Regions from separate parts of the Homo sapiens genome. Here region 2 is linked to region 1. The links are contacts of gene promoters, found by promoter capture Hi-C in blood cells and fetal thymus (Javierre and others, 2016). All regions are on one chromosome and are shown on one strand. Each heading gives the region's core, a stretch centred on a gene start or on the middle of the fragment in contact. The rest is flanking DNA. Distances are from core to core; before and after follow the strand shown.

Region 1 (7,051 bases), core at 3,277-5,776:
AAAAGAAAAGCCTCAGGATTTAAGAGTTTATACTTTATGAGGTTGTACTTTATGAGTACTTCCCATTTTGTCACAAAAAAAATTTTTTAAAAAGTGCACTCAAAGACTGAAATTTAATAAAATTAAGAATTCTTACTGCTTCATCAAGGATATTCTTAAGTGAAACTGACTTAAAAAAAATTGAGTGTATTGTTCCAGGATAAACTATGAGATTCAAAGAAGTTGTTCAATACATTATTTCATCACCACTTGTGTTTCTTGTCAAGATTTATGTAAAAGAGGATCTTCAAGAATTAGTTGGTGCTGACACTGGATGGGTATAAGCAAAGCAACAAGTCCAGCTACATGAATAATTATGTCCATTTTAAAGGAATTATAATTCTGCAGATGACATAGTAACTCAGTCTTTATATTTGCAACTAAATTTCTTTCTTTTTTTTGAGACAGTCTTGCTCTGTTGTCCAGGCTGGAGTGCCGTGGCACCATCTCAGCTCACTGTAACCTCTGCCTCCCAGGTTCAAGTGATTCTCCAGCCTCAGCCTCCCGAATAACTGGGATTACAGGCATGTACCACCATGCCCAGCTAATTTTTTTTTTTTGTATTTTTAGTAGAGACAGGGTTTCACCATATTGGCCAGGTTGGTCTCAAACTCCTGATCTCAAGTTATCCGCCTGCCTTGGCCTCCCAAAATTCAGGGATTACAGGCATGAGCCACCTCGCCTGGCCTGCAACTAAATGTCTAATTTGGTGAGTTATTGCATCTTTGGAAAGTAGCACTCCCATGAGTTCTTTTACTGATTATCAGCTAGCAGGCATTCATTAGTCTTTTAGCTATTGCATGTCCTTCTCCTATCAATGAAATATAATAATTTCATGTGTAAGATGCTTCAGTAGGTTTTTCATTTTTACTTTGAAAATGGTAATACAAAAGCTTTGGCTTTTATAAAGCATATCATCTCTATGTTGAAAGTATTAAATTCCCTTTCTTTTAAATTCTGACTGGTCTGAAAATGATGCCTCAACTTGATTGGCACCATAATAGTATTTGAAAATGTTCTGTTGAATGACATAAAATAAGGCAAGTGATTAACATCTCTAATGCCAAGGGAAAGAAAGAAGCTTTTGTCATACTTTCCTTTGTTATTTATAGTTTCGACCAGATTTCTCCCTTTCCCTGAGTCAGTGAATTCTGATACTGATGTCAGCTTCATCTTTTTCGGCATCTTTACAGACGGGAAGGTTAGAAAGCGAATCTTCTAGTATCCCCTTTTTAAGCCAATGGAAGAACCTAAAATTAAAAAACTATACATAAAACAAAATTTAATTTAAAGATAAAATATTAAATTCCTTTTTTTTTTGGAGACAGAGTCTTGCTCTGTCACCCAGGCTGGAGTACAGTGGTGCGATCTTGGCTCACTGCAACCTTCGCCTCCTAGGTTCAAGCAATTCTCCTGCCTCAGCTTCCCAAGTAGTTGGGACTACAGGTGTGCCACCATGCCCGGCTAAATTTTTTGTATTTTTTTTTTTTTGAGGTGGAGTCTTGCTCTGTCGCCCACGCTGGAGTGCAGTGGTGAAATCTCGGCTCACTGCAACCTCCGCCTCCCGGGTCCCAGCAATTCTCCTGCCTCAGCCTCCCGAGTAGCTGGGATTACGGGCGCACGCCACCATGCCCGGCTAATTTCTGTATTTTTTTAGTAGAGTCATAGGTTGGCCAGGCTGGTCTTGATATCCTGACCTTGTGGTCTGTGCACCTTGGCCTCCCAAAGTGCTGTGATTACAGGTGGGAGCCACCGTGCCTGTCCGAATATTTTGTATTTTTAGTAGAGACGGGGTTTCACCATGTTGGCCAGGTTGGTCTGGAACTCCTGAGCTCAGACAATCTGCCCGCCTTGGCCTCCCAAAGTGCTAGAATATAGGCATAAACCACCGCGCCCGGACGACAAAATATTAAATTCTAGGCAGGGCGTGGTGGCTCACACCTGTAATCCCAGCACTTTGAGTGGCTGAGGCGGGCAGATCATGAGGTCAGGAGACCGAGGCCATCCTGGCCAACGTGGTGAAACCACATCTCTACTAAAAATACAAAAAATTAGCCGGGTGTGGTGGCACGCACCTGTAATCCCAGCTACTCGGGAGGCTGAGGCAGGAGAACTGCTTGAACCTGGGAGGCGGAGGTTGCAGTGGGCCGAGATCACACCACTGCACTCCATCCTGGGCAACAGAGCGAGACACCATCTCAAAAAATAATAATAAAATAACAAAATTAAATTCTAAAAGAGTATCCCTTTCTGGCTGGGCGCAGTGGCTCGCGCTTGTAATCCCAGCACTTTGGGAGGCTGAGGTGGGCGGATCACCTGAGGTCAGGAGTTCGAGACCAGCCTGGCCAAAATGGTGAAACTCTGTGTTTACTAAAAATACAAAAATTAGCCGGGCATGGTGGCGGGCGCCTGTAATCCCAGCTACTCGGGAGGCTGAGGCAGGAGAATTGCTTGAACCCAGGGGGAGGAGGCTGCAGTGAACCCAGATTGTGCCACTGCATTCCAGTCTGGGTGATAGAGCGAGACTCTGAAAAAAAAAAAATTAAATGAATAAATGAGTATCCCTTTTAGATAAAGTTTAAATATTTTAAAATGTTCTCAATATATTAAAAAATATTCTTGCGAGACAAGCCAACAAATTGAACTTTTTTCTTATGTTCCCATATAGGTATTAAAACAACTTCAGGATTTCAAAAAAACTCATTTATTAGGTGACAAGGAGGTTACAGAGATTAGAGCAGGTATAACCGAAGATAGCTTGTAAGTGTAGCTGTAGCTGGTGGGCCGGTTGAGGTTCTGGACTTCGCGGTGCAAAATAATTTTGAAGTCCAAAGTAAAAGCAAGCAAAAGAGTTTATTGCAAAGCGAAAGTACACCCTCACAGCTGATCAGAGCGGGCTGCTCAAAGGTGAGACAGCATGCACTGACACTGGGGAAACTCCCTTTGTAGGAGTCTCACAGGATCATTCATGAAGCGGGGAGAACGGGTGCTGCTATTAAGCACGTTCTCTGGTTTTCTGTCGCCATGTGCGCTGTGGTTGTATATGCTAGTACATACACTGCATGTCTTATTAGTATCTTAAATCTTCACCCAGGAGTGGTGTTTTTTTTTTTTTTTTTTTTTTACTATTATAATGAGTATAATTCAGCCCAACGACACTGATCATGGGTTTCTGCGCTTGTGAGAGTTTGGGGATTTTCCCTTCTGCTCTCGTACCTCTTTGCTGCAAAATTTTCTAACCAGGAGCCTCGGATGTGGTTTGTACACTATGGGCTGGTTTGTTCTATTTATTTAGCAAGTTTGTTCCCCTTGAAGGGAGGCTATCACCACCTACCTAACCTACCTCCTAGAAACACACTAGGAGTACTGAGAGCAAATTGCATTAATCTCTGAAAACGCACGTATTTATGCCCTAAACCTACTACCTTAGAAAATTCTAGAAAACACAAGGATACTCCAGGATACATTTTACCAGCTAGTCAATCGTCATCTAGCCGCTTGAAAACTCTGTACATTTCCAACAGAATGAGGGTAAAAACGGCAAATAACACGTAAGAAACGTTATCAATGTTGTTTTGACTTTGTGAATTCCCTAGAAGGGTCTCAGCGACCCTGAGGTCACCAGACCACATTTCGAGAGCCATTGTACCAGACTCTGTTCTAGATAAAAGACGGAGCAATCGGAATGAATAAAATACTCTCTCTATGGGGAGCTGTTTACGTAGTGGCAACTGCGACCTGTTCTAAAGTGGAACAGAACCGAGCGCTGTGAGAGGGTGGGACTTGGAGACCTATCCTTGCCCGCCGGGCCAGGGGAGTGGGCTCTAGAAGGATGACCTTTCAACTGCGACCTGCTGAGGAGGAGTCGGCAAGGGTGGCCGCCGACCAGTTCTCTTTCCCGCCCACCTCCCCAAATCCCAGGAGAAGAGGGGCGGACGGGAAGCGACAGTGGCCGCGAGTCCCCGGCACGCGACGGGCTCTCAACCTGGCACGCCGAATCCTCAGGACAGCCCCGCTATCACGCAACTACTCGGGTGTCCCAAGAGTCGCCAGGGCCGGAGCCGCGCGCGGCGCCGGGGACCCGCGTGAAACCGCCTGTGGGAAGCGGGCGGGTGGCGCGCGCTCCGGGGACAGTGAGAGGCGGCGGACGGCGCGGGGACGTCCCGAAAAAGGCGCAGCCAGGAAGACGCAACTCCTGACGCGGTCTCGGGCTACGCGGAGGCGGCTAGTGGGAAAGGGGGACTCTGGGAGACAGTGCCTAACAGGGCCAGGCCCCCGACGGCTTCCTCAGGAGGACTCACGGTTCTGGGGGATTCCGGAACCGCTACCCCGTCGCGAGAAAGGAGGTCTACTTACGCGCGCAATCTCGAGCGAGCGGCCTTTTCCACCCCCGCGGTCTCTTGCGCCCTCTGGTGGCCTCTCGCGAGAACGACGCTGAACTTGTTCAGGTGGGACGCCAATAAAGATTTCTTATTCAAAAAACAGGAAGTGCCTACGGAGGCCGGGCCGGCAGCGGCGGCCGGGCATGAAGCCGGGCGGCTACGGGATCGCGGGCGGCGGCGGCATCGCGGGCGGCGGCGGCGATGAGCGACATAGTGGAGAAGACGCTGACGGCGCTGCCGGGACTCTTTCTGCAGAACCAGCCCGGTGGTGGGCCCGCGGCCGCCAAGGCGTCCTTCTCCTCGAGGCTGGGCAGCCTTGTCCGCGGCATCACAGCCCTCACCTCCAAGCACGTAGGTGCCCGCCGGCCCGGGAGCTCAGGGACATCGGAGTGAGGCCCCCGCGCCAGGAGGCCCTGGCCGGGCGGCGAGACTTCAGGGCCTCTGGGGTTAGCCCTCCGGCGGGGCTCAGGGGCTGCTGTGTCGGTTCGTCCTTTCGTCTGCCTGGAAGCTTCACTTTCCTGCTGGGACTGACAGCAGGGAAGCCGAGTTTCCACAGTTAGTTCTGACACTGACTCTTTGATCGGGGGCACATCTCTGTAACCTCTGAGCCTCCGTGTGTTTTCTCAACGTTGTGGTGGAAAAGTACTGATACATAATTCATAGGTTTTTTGTTTGTTTTGAGGATTGGGTGAGATGTCAAGCGTGTGAAAATACCTAGTGCGATGGAAGTGTCAGACATTATTTACCTTCCACAAAGTTTTTTTTCCCTACTCAGTTTCCTTCTCTCCCCCGGTGCCTTCAACTGAACAACAGTTCAGATGTCGCATACCTGAAGAGATCCTGTGAGCCTCTTGTTGAATATCTTTGGGGAGCTTGAGGTTCTTGGGTTACAACAACGTGTTGGGCAAAGAAAAAGCACAGTTCTCTCAAAATGTAAAATTTGCTAAGTCTCTGCCTCAAGTGGGCTTTGAAAATGAGCAGTTATAAAAATTCTTAAACTTTTAAAATTTTTAAATTTTTATTGACGGAGTCTCTCTCTGTCGCCCAGGCTGGAGTGCAATGGTGCGATCTCGATCTCGGCTCGCTGGAGCCTTAAGGTTTTAAAAATTTTAATTTTTGTTTTTTTTTGAGACGGAGTCTCGCTCTGTCGCGCAGGCTGGAGTGCAGTGGCGCGATCTGGGCTCACTACAAGCTCCGCCTTCCGGGTTCACGCCATTCTCCTGCCTCAGCTTCCCGAGTAGCTGGGACTACAAGTGCCCGCCACTGCCTGGCTAATTTTTTGTACTTTTCGTAGAGACGGGGTTTCACCGTGTTAGCGAGGATGGTCTCGATCTCCTGACCTCGCGATCCGCCCGCCTTGGCGTCCCAAAGTGTTGGGATTACGTGCGTGAGCTACCCTGCCCGGCCTTAAAATTTTTAAATTTTTAATGACGGAGTCTCGCTCTGTCGCCCAGGCTGGAGTGCGATGGTGCGATCTTGGCTCACTGGAGCGTCTGCCTCCCGGGTTCAAGCGATTCTCCTGCCTCAGCCTCCCAAGTAGCTGGGATTATAGGCGTATGCCACTACGCCCGGCTAATTTTTGTATTTTTAGTAGAGACAGGATTTCACCATGTTGGGCAGGCTGGTCTTGAACTGACCTCAAGTGTTCGCTCACTTCGGCCTCCCAAAGTGCTGGGATTACAGGCATGAGCCACCGCGCCGGGCCCCCACAGGCGCTCGATGGTTGCACGGATTGTGTAGTATACCGATTCACAGCTACAAGGAGTTTATATCTTAAAAAGAGCACGTGTTAATGTCATTATTTGTTCAACAGATGTTTATGGAACAAGGTTATGTGTTAGACACAGGAAAATAGAATTAAACACATTCCCTTTTCCCAAGGAATTAGTCATTCGTTTTGGGCTTAAGACAAGTATAAGCATGACTACAATGCAATAGAAGTGCTAAAAGAGAAGGAAAGACAGAAAAGAAAGTGCTCTGAAGGTTTAAAAAAAATATTTTTTTGGCAGCTCTAATAAGTTGATGCTATCCGGAGAGAACCTGCTTCACATTCCAGAATCATTACTTGTGGGCTTGTCTTGTTTTGTTTTGTTTTTGAGATGGAGTCTCACTCTGTCGCCCAGGCTGGAATGCAGTGGTGCAATCTTGGCTCACTGCAACTTCTGCTTCCTGGGTTCAAGTGATTCTTCTGCCTCAGCCTCCCTGGTAGCTGGGATTACAGGCACACGTCACCATACCCGGCTAATTTTTATATTTTTAGTAGAGACAGGGTTTCGCCATGTTGGCCAGGCTGGTCTTGAACTCCTGACCTCAGGTAATCCACCTGCCTTGGCCTTGGCCTCCCAAAGTGCTGGGATTACAGGCGTGAGCCACCACGCCTGGCCATTTGTGGCCTTAATAATGTTGTTTTTCTTAAGGTTTTTGTCCTTTGCTAATTTTTAAGGGATCCTCAATAAAATTTTTTAAAAAGTTATTTTTGGTCTTAAATAGCAGTTTGAAACTGTAGATAGGCATCCACGTGTATCAGTACGTCACTAGTGGCTTTTGAATAGCCATCTGATGAACATGTAATTCAGTGTGTAATTTAAAGGTAGCATGATATTAGCCAAAAAAAAATGGGGCCAATTTTT
Region 2 (6,153 bases), core at 41-2,540, 2.0 Mb before region 1:
ATGCAGCAGGTACAAACTTTCCCATAGTGGCCACAAATTATTTAATGTTTGTTTTTTATAGGAACAGTGGTTTGGTCAATTTAAAGAACTAAAGGCACATGAAGAGAGTATGAAAAAAATTAAGATTCTGGAGAACAATAACAGAAATCATTCAGGGCATGCCTTGAGTAAATGTTTGCGCACCAATTCTAACATGATGACAACCCTTAAGAAATTTAGGGCAAATGCCAATAATTATTTTTCACACTACATGTATAAACACTACTTTAAATCTCTTAAGAAAAGTATTTGAGTTCCTTCATGGATGACTGAGCTAGGGAGAAGAGAAAGTGCTGGTATTTTTCAGCCTGGATTCAGTTGACCCTCCCTGCCAGCCACCATCCTTGGTGTTGCTATTGAGGCCAGATTACAAGGCTGGATGGAAAAGAGTCCAGATAGGCTCTTGGGCTCAAATAGCAGCTGCTAAGCACCAGACACCTTGTATGTCCCTTGTTTGCTAATGGGAATTCACAATTAGGCATCTGTGGAATTTCTTGGGGAAAAGGTGGAACTCTTAACATTTGGTTTACTTTTAAAAATGGCAGCATCATGGAACTAATATATAATAGTTATTTGAAAATAACTATACCCCAGGCTAAAAGATGAGGAAGTAGTAAAGCTTAAAGGGGAAACTGGATATCCATTAATTAGAAAACAAGGGTTTGAAATCCTGTAAAGGCTGCTTTTCTTCCATATGCTTCGTGAGCCAAGATCGTGCCACTGCACTCCAGCCTGAGTGACAAGAGTGAGACGCCGTCTCAAAAAAAAAAAAAGCATGTCTTGGTTTGACATGCTTAAATACTTTAGGTCATTGGTAGCCAATGTGAAGACAAGTAATTATTGAAGTGTTTTTAAGAATTGGCTAATTTAGCTATATATTTTATACACAGGTAAGTTACACCAACACCCAAGAGGAAGAACCTGCTTAAATGCTTTAGATGCCAGTAAATGAAGCAATGATTACAGAGTAACTTCAGAACTTTACTTCCTTTTAGGATATACAATTATTTCTCCCCCATTGAATATTTAGCAAAAAGTTTAAAACAAATGAAAACTACCATGGTATCAGCTGCCAGATTTAGTTTTTAGCATCCTCTATATCTTTCTTGGGTTTCTAGGTTATTGTCCTATCATTTATGACTCTACATTTTATTCCTCAATTACAGGTGAAAACTAAATGTGGTGGATAGAAAACAATCAATGGTTAAACTGAATTGTATTGGTTCGTTCCTGAAGGATATAATCTTTTCTTTAAAAAATGCTTTGCAGAAAAGAAGGTAATACATTCTGAGTAAGAACAAGGTCTGTGTATGTTCCCCCTGCTTTCTTGACATGGCTGATGTTTAACCATTATGAAAGTCATACTCCATCCTCTTCTAACCTTTCATCAAAACATATGGAAGATTAGAAGAGGAAAGAGTACAATAAAAAGACCAATAATGTCACAGAGTGGCAAAAGTATTCTTCTACTCCCTCAGTTTAAACAGATTTGCTTCTTGCTCAGTTGCAGGCTCCCTAGCTTCAAAGCCCCTCTCCTTTTGCTGTGGTCCAGAAATGGTGCAGTAGGGAGTCAAGGAATGACACTCCATTCTGCAGAGTAGGCTTGGAGAAATCCTGTACAATTTCTGGGAAGTGAGTATCACATGACCCCATCTTGGTAGAGAAGAACTACAAGTTCTCTCTCCCCAGCTCAGCATTTCCTCCATGAGTTCCTGCAAACCTGGTTGCTCATTCCAGATTAGACTTAGTTGACTTGGTTGATATATCAAGTCCAGTTGATTAGTAAAGTGTTCCAGAAACTCTGTGTTGAGAAGAATTCTAAGGAAGGATTGAGCAACACATGTATGACATACTTGCTTTTCATGACCTAGATATTATCAACAAGAAGCTTATTAGATGATAACTCCATGGCTAATAACACAATGGAGCACTACTAGCTCATCTACTAATCCAAGTATTTTAAAATTTAATAATAGGAAATGTTTGCCTAAAGAAAATATTTTATTATCTGCTACATGTAGCTATTCACAGACTGTAATAGTATGTTAGGAAAAGACATGTAGTGGCTAATATGGTTTATGTAAAAGTTATTTTATTTTATTATCATCCAGCCCCAAATGTCAAGAAGTTATTTTAACTCATAAAAAGAACTTCTGTGAATCCATACTTACAGGATCCCCTCCAGAGGCAAATGAAATAGACTGCATATGATGATTTGCAATAATCTGAAAAACATAAACATGTATACTAATATAAATTAATTGTTATTTCTAGTTATATACAGTCTAACAGTAATAGACATACATTTGTTTGTTTTGTTTTTGCCTGATCAGCATCCCTTTGAAAACCACCCAACCTACACTCTATAATAATCTCATTTAAACCACGAGATTCTGATGATTTTGTGATGCCCATCTCACTGCCCTTGCCCACCCAGGTGGAACATTATCTAGGGCTAGCCAATCAGAAAATACCATCTCTCTGGATACAGCAGAGCCAATCAATGTATTTTGGGAAGAACTGAAATGAATAATAGGAGAGAAAGCATCTCTCTCTGCCATTAAAAACTATGTAAGCCCAAAGCTTCTAGGGGCCATATTATGCTGCCATGTGAGAAAAGTCTGCTGGAATATGAAGCTTTTCTTCTGATGAAAATCGGAACTGAGAACTAAAAATAGGAAAAAAGTCTGGTGGTAACATTTGTTCCATCACTTTAACCAATATATTTCACCCTCTCCCTTTATATTTTTGTTTCTTTTTGCAAAAGTTAGTTTGAATTTGATTTCAGTCATTCACTACTAAATGTATCCTGAGTAAGGCACTAACATTAGGACTTCTAATATGAGTAAGAATCGCCAAGTAACCACATTAATTAGCTAAGAAGATTGTCTTCTATTTGAGAGTCTAGGATTGCTTGTTTGCAAACCACAGTGTAATGACCATTTGCAGAGACATATCTGTCATGCTATTTTGAAGGTTCATTAAAACACCAACTATGCACCTATTGACTAATCCTGCTTTCAAAATTGTGTGACAGAATCTACCAAAGCTGATTATATAAGATGACCAGCAATTTTATTCCTAGACGTATATCCAACACAATTGTGTAAATATGTGCAACAAAAAATATTCTCAAAGAAGACAATAACTGCCCTGTTCATAACAGCCCTAAATTGGAAACAATTCCAATGATGACTATTGTAATATTCAATGGTGGCATACTATATAGCAGCAACATGTTTGCTGAGCAAAAGAAGTCTAACACAAAGAATATACTGCATGGCTTAATTTATATGAAGTTCAAAACTAGGCAAAATTATGGTATTTGAAATCAGAACAGTGGTTATTTCTGGAGCACAGGAAGAAGGGGCAAAAGATTTTCTGGGATTGCTGGAGTTTCTTGATCTGAATATTGGTTATACAACTGTTCATTTTGTGATAATTATTACGGACTTATTATCTGTGTACTTGTCTACATTTATATTTCAGTAAAAACAAAGTCAATATACAAAGATCAATGTCATTCCCATATATCAACAATAGTCGGCCGGGCGCAGTGGCTCACGCCTGTAATCCCAACCCTTTGGGAGGCCGTGGCGGGCGGATCATGAGGTCAGGAGATTGAGACCATCCTAGCTAACACAGTGAAACCCCATCTCTACTAAAAATACAAAAAATTAGCTGGGCGTGGTGGGCACCTGTAGTCCCCGCTACTCAGGAGTCTGAGGCAGGAGAATGGTGTGAACCCGGGAGGCGGAGCTTGCAGTGAGCTGAGATCATGCCACTGCACTCCAGCCTGGGCTACAGAGCGAGACTCCGTCTCAAAAAAAAAAACAGAAAAATAGCCAATTAGACACTGTATTTTGGGGAGAAAGGTACACTTTGTAAGAGTACTTTAGTACAAAACTAATAAGAATCATGTAATGCTTTTTGGAAAACTTCACTGAAGAGTATAAATAAGATCTGAACAAGTAGAAAGATATATATCACTCTCATGGATGAGAAGATGGTATTACAAAGGTGTCAATCCTACCCCAGATTAATTTATAAATTCCATGCAATTCCAATAAAAATGCTTCTAAAATTCATATGGAAGAATAAATGTGCAAGAACAGCTAAAGCAAATTTTAAAAGAACAAATGCATAAGAATTCCCTTATAAGATAATAAGAAATATTATAATATCACATTCAAGATGCTCCTAAATTCATATGAAAGAATAAATGCACAAGAAGAGTTAGCGCAGTTTTTTAAAGAACAAAGACAAAATATTCCTGATCAAACAGCAAGATATAAAACTGTAAAAATGTCACAAGAATTCAAAGTCTAAAAATAGACTCATGTATTTAAGAACTTTTAGTCTATGATAAATCTGACACCAAGCAGCAGTCAGCCAGAAATCATGTGTCCATGGTGAGAAGAACTAGAGCAGGGGCTCCCGACTCCCCTGGCCAGAGACCAAGTACCAGTCCGTGGCCTGTTAGGAACCGGGCTGCAGAGGAGGTGAGCAGTGGATGAGCAAGAGAAGCTTCATGTGTATGTACTGCTGCTCCCCGTTGCTCACATTACTGTCTGAGTTCTGCCTCCTGTCAGATCAGTGGCGACATTAGATTCTCATAGGAGAATGAACCCTATTGTGAACTACACATACGAGGGATCTAGGTTGCATGCTCCTTATGAGAATCTAATGCTTGATGACCTGAGGTAGAGCTGAGGTGGTGACGCTAGTGCTGGGGAGTGGCTGCAAATACAGATTAACAATAGCAGAGAGGTTTGACTGCACAGAGACCATAATAAATCAATTGCTTGCAGACTCATATCAAAACCCTATCGGTAAGTAGCAAGTGACACTTAAGTTGCATCTGGTGGCAGGCTACATAGTGGCAAGTGAGTTGATGTACTTCAGTTGTACAGCTGCAGCTGATGGCAGGCTTTAAGTCTGAATCCGACTATTTTAGTTTGTTCCTGACCCGCCCATTATTTTATTTACCACTCCCATCCATGTCTCTTTCCTGCACCATGCACTTTCTCGGTCACAGTTTTGGTAAGCCCATAAGCTAACCCTAGCCAAAATGAGTAAAAAACAAACTTCACTGGAGAGGTTCTTTGAAAAGGGGGAAAGATCCAGTGATGAGACTGCAGAAGACTTTAAGACTGCCAACAAAAATAAAGCTGCATTTAAAAGAAAATATCAAGAGTCCTACTTAAAATACCAGTTCATTACAACAGGTGATTCACATTATCCAAGCTTGCTTTGCATAACATGTAGCAAGTGGCTATCTAACAAAGCCATGAAGCCTTCTAAACTGCTTTGTCACATGGAGACCACACACCCTGCATTAATACTAAGCCTTTGGAGTTTTTCAAAAGAAAACAATGTGAACACAAAGAATAGAAGAAATTATTGAAGGCCACCACTTCATCAGATGTGTTTGCACTGAGAGCATCATTCTTAGTGGCTAACCACATTGCTAAAGCTAAGAAGTCCTTTACTATTGATGAAGAGTTGATCCTGCCTGCTTCTAAGGACATTTGTCATGAACTTTCAGGAGAGGCTGCAGTTCAAAAGGTGGCATGTGTTCCTCTTTTGGCTAGCACCACAACTAGATGAACTGATGAAATATCAGAGGATAATGAGGCACAATTGTTAGAAAGGAACAATGCTTTTTTGTGTGTGATATATTTTGCAGGAGGATGTGAATGAGGATATGCTATATGCACTTTTGTTGCCAACCAGCACCACAGATGCAGAACTATTCAAGTCTTTGAATGATTACATATCAGGAAAGTGGAATCAGTCATTTTGCATCGGTATATGCATGGGTGGAGCAGCTGCCATGACTGGATGGCATTTTGGTTTCACTACTCAGGTCAAAGAGGTCGCTTCTGAATGTGAGTCTATGCACCATGTCATCCATAGAGAAATGATGGCTAGTCAGAAAATGTCACCTGAACTTAACAACATTTTGCAGTATGTGATTAAAATTATCAACCATATTATACATGCCCTTAACTCACATCTGTTTGTGCAGCTCTGTGAGGAGATGGATGCAGAGCACACACGTCTTCTCTTACACACAGAAGTGAGATGGCTTTCTAAAGGTAGATCACTGGC

Evidence for each region. The method cuts DNA at HindIII sites, captures the fragments that hold promoters and counts their contacts. A CHiCAGO score of 5 or more calls a contact.
Region 2: a fragment that was not itself captured here is called in contact with the fragment with the promoter of AP4E1 in region 1 in 1 of 17 cell types (total CD8 T cells); the score reaches 5.8 in total CD8 T cells.

The regions. Positions count from the first base shown.
Region 1 is chr15:50,904,157-50,911,207 of GRCh38, forward strand. It overlaps AP4E1 (adaptor related protein complex 4 subunit epsilon 1), which reads left to right and starts at 4,527. Exons shown (of 21, transcript NM_007347.5): 1 at 4,527-4,772. The coding sequence starts at 4,623. RefSeq lists enhancers at 4,120-4,861, 4,336-4,625, 4,646-4,815, 4,862-5,603. The HindIII fragment of the contact is 3,809 bases long and covers 1,119-4,927 here.
Region 2 is chr15:48,869,879-48,876,031 of GRCh38, forward strand. SHC4 (SHC adaptor protein 4) reads right to left here. Exons shown (of 12, transcript NM_203349.4): 5 at 2,211-2,264. Among named protein-coding and RNA genes, the nearest start is that of EID1, 5.2 kb to the right of the region's middle. RefSeq lists a silencer at 4,445-4,766. The HindIII fragment of the contact is 1,269 bases long and covers 657-1,925 here.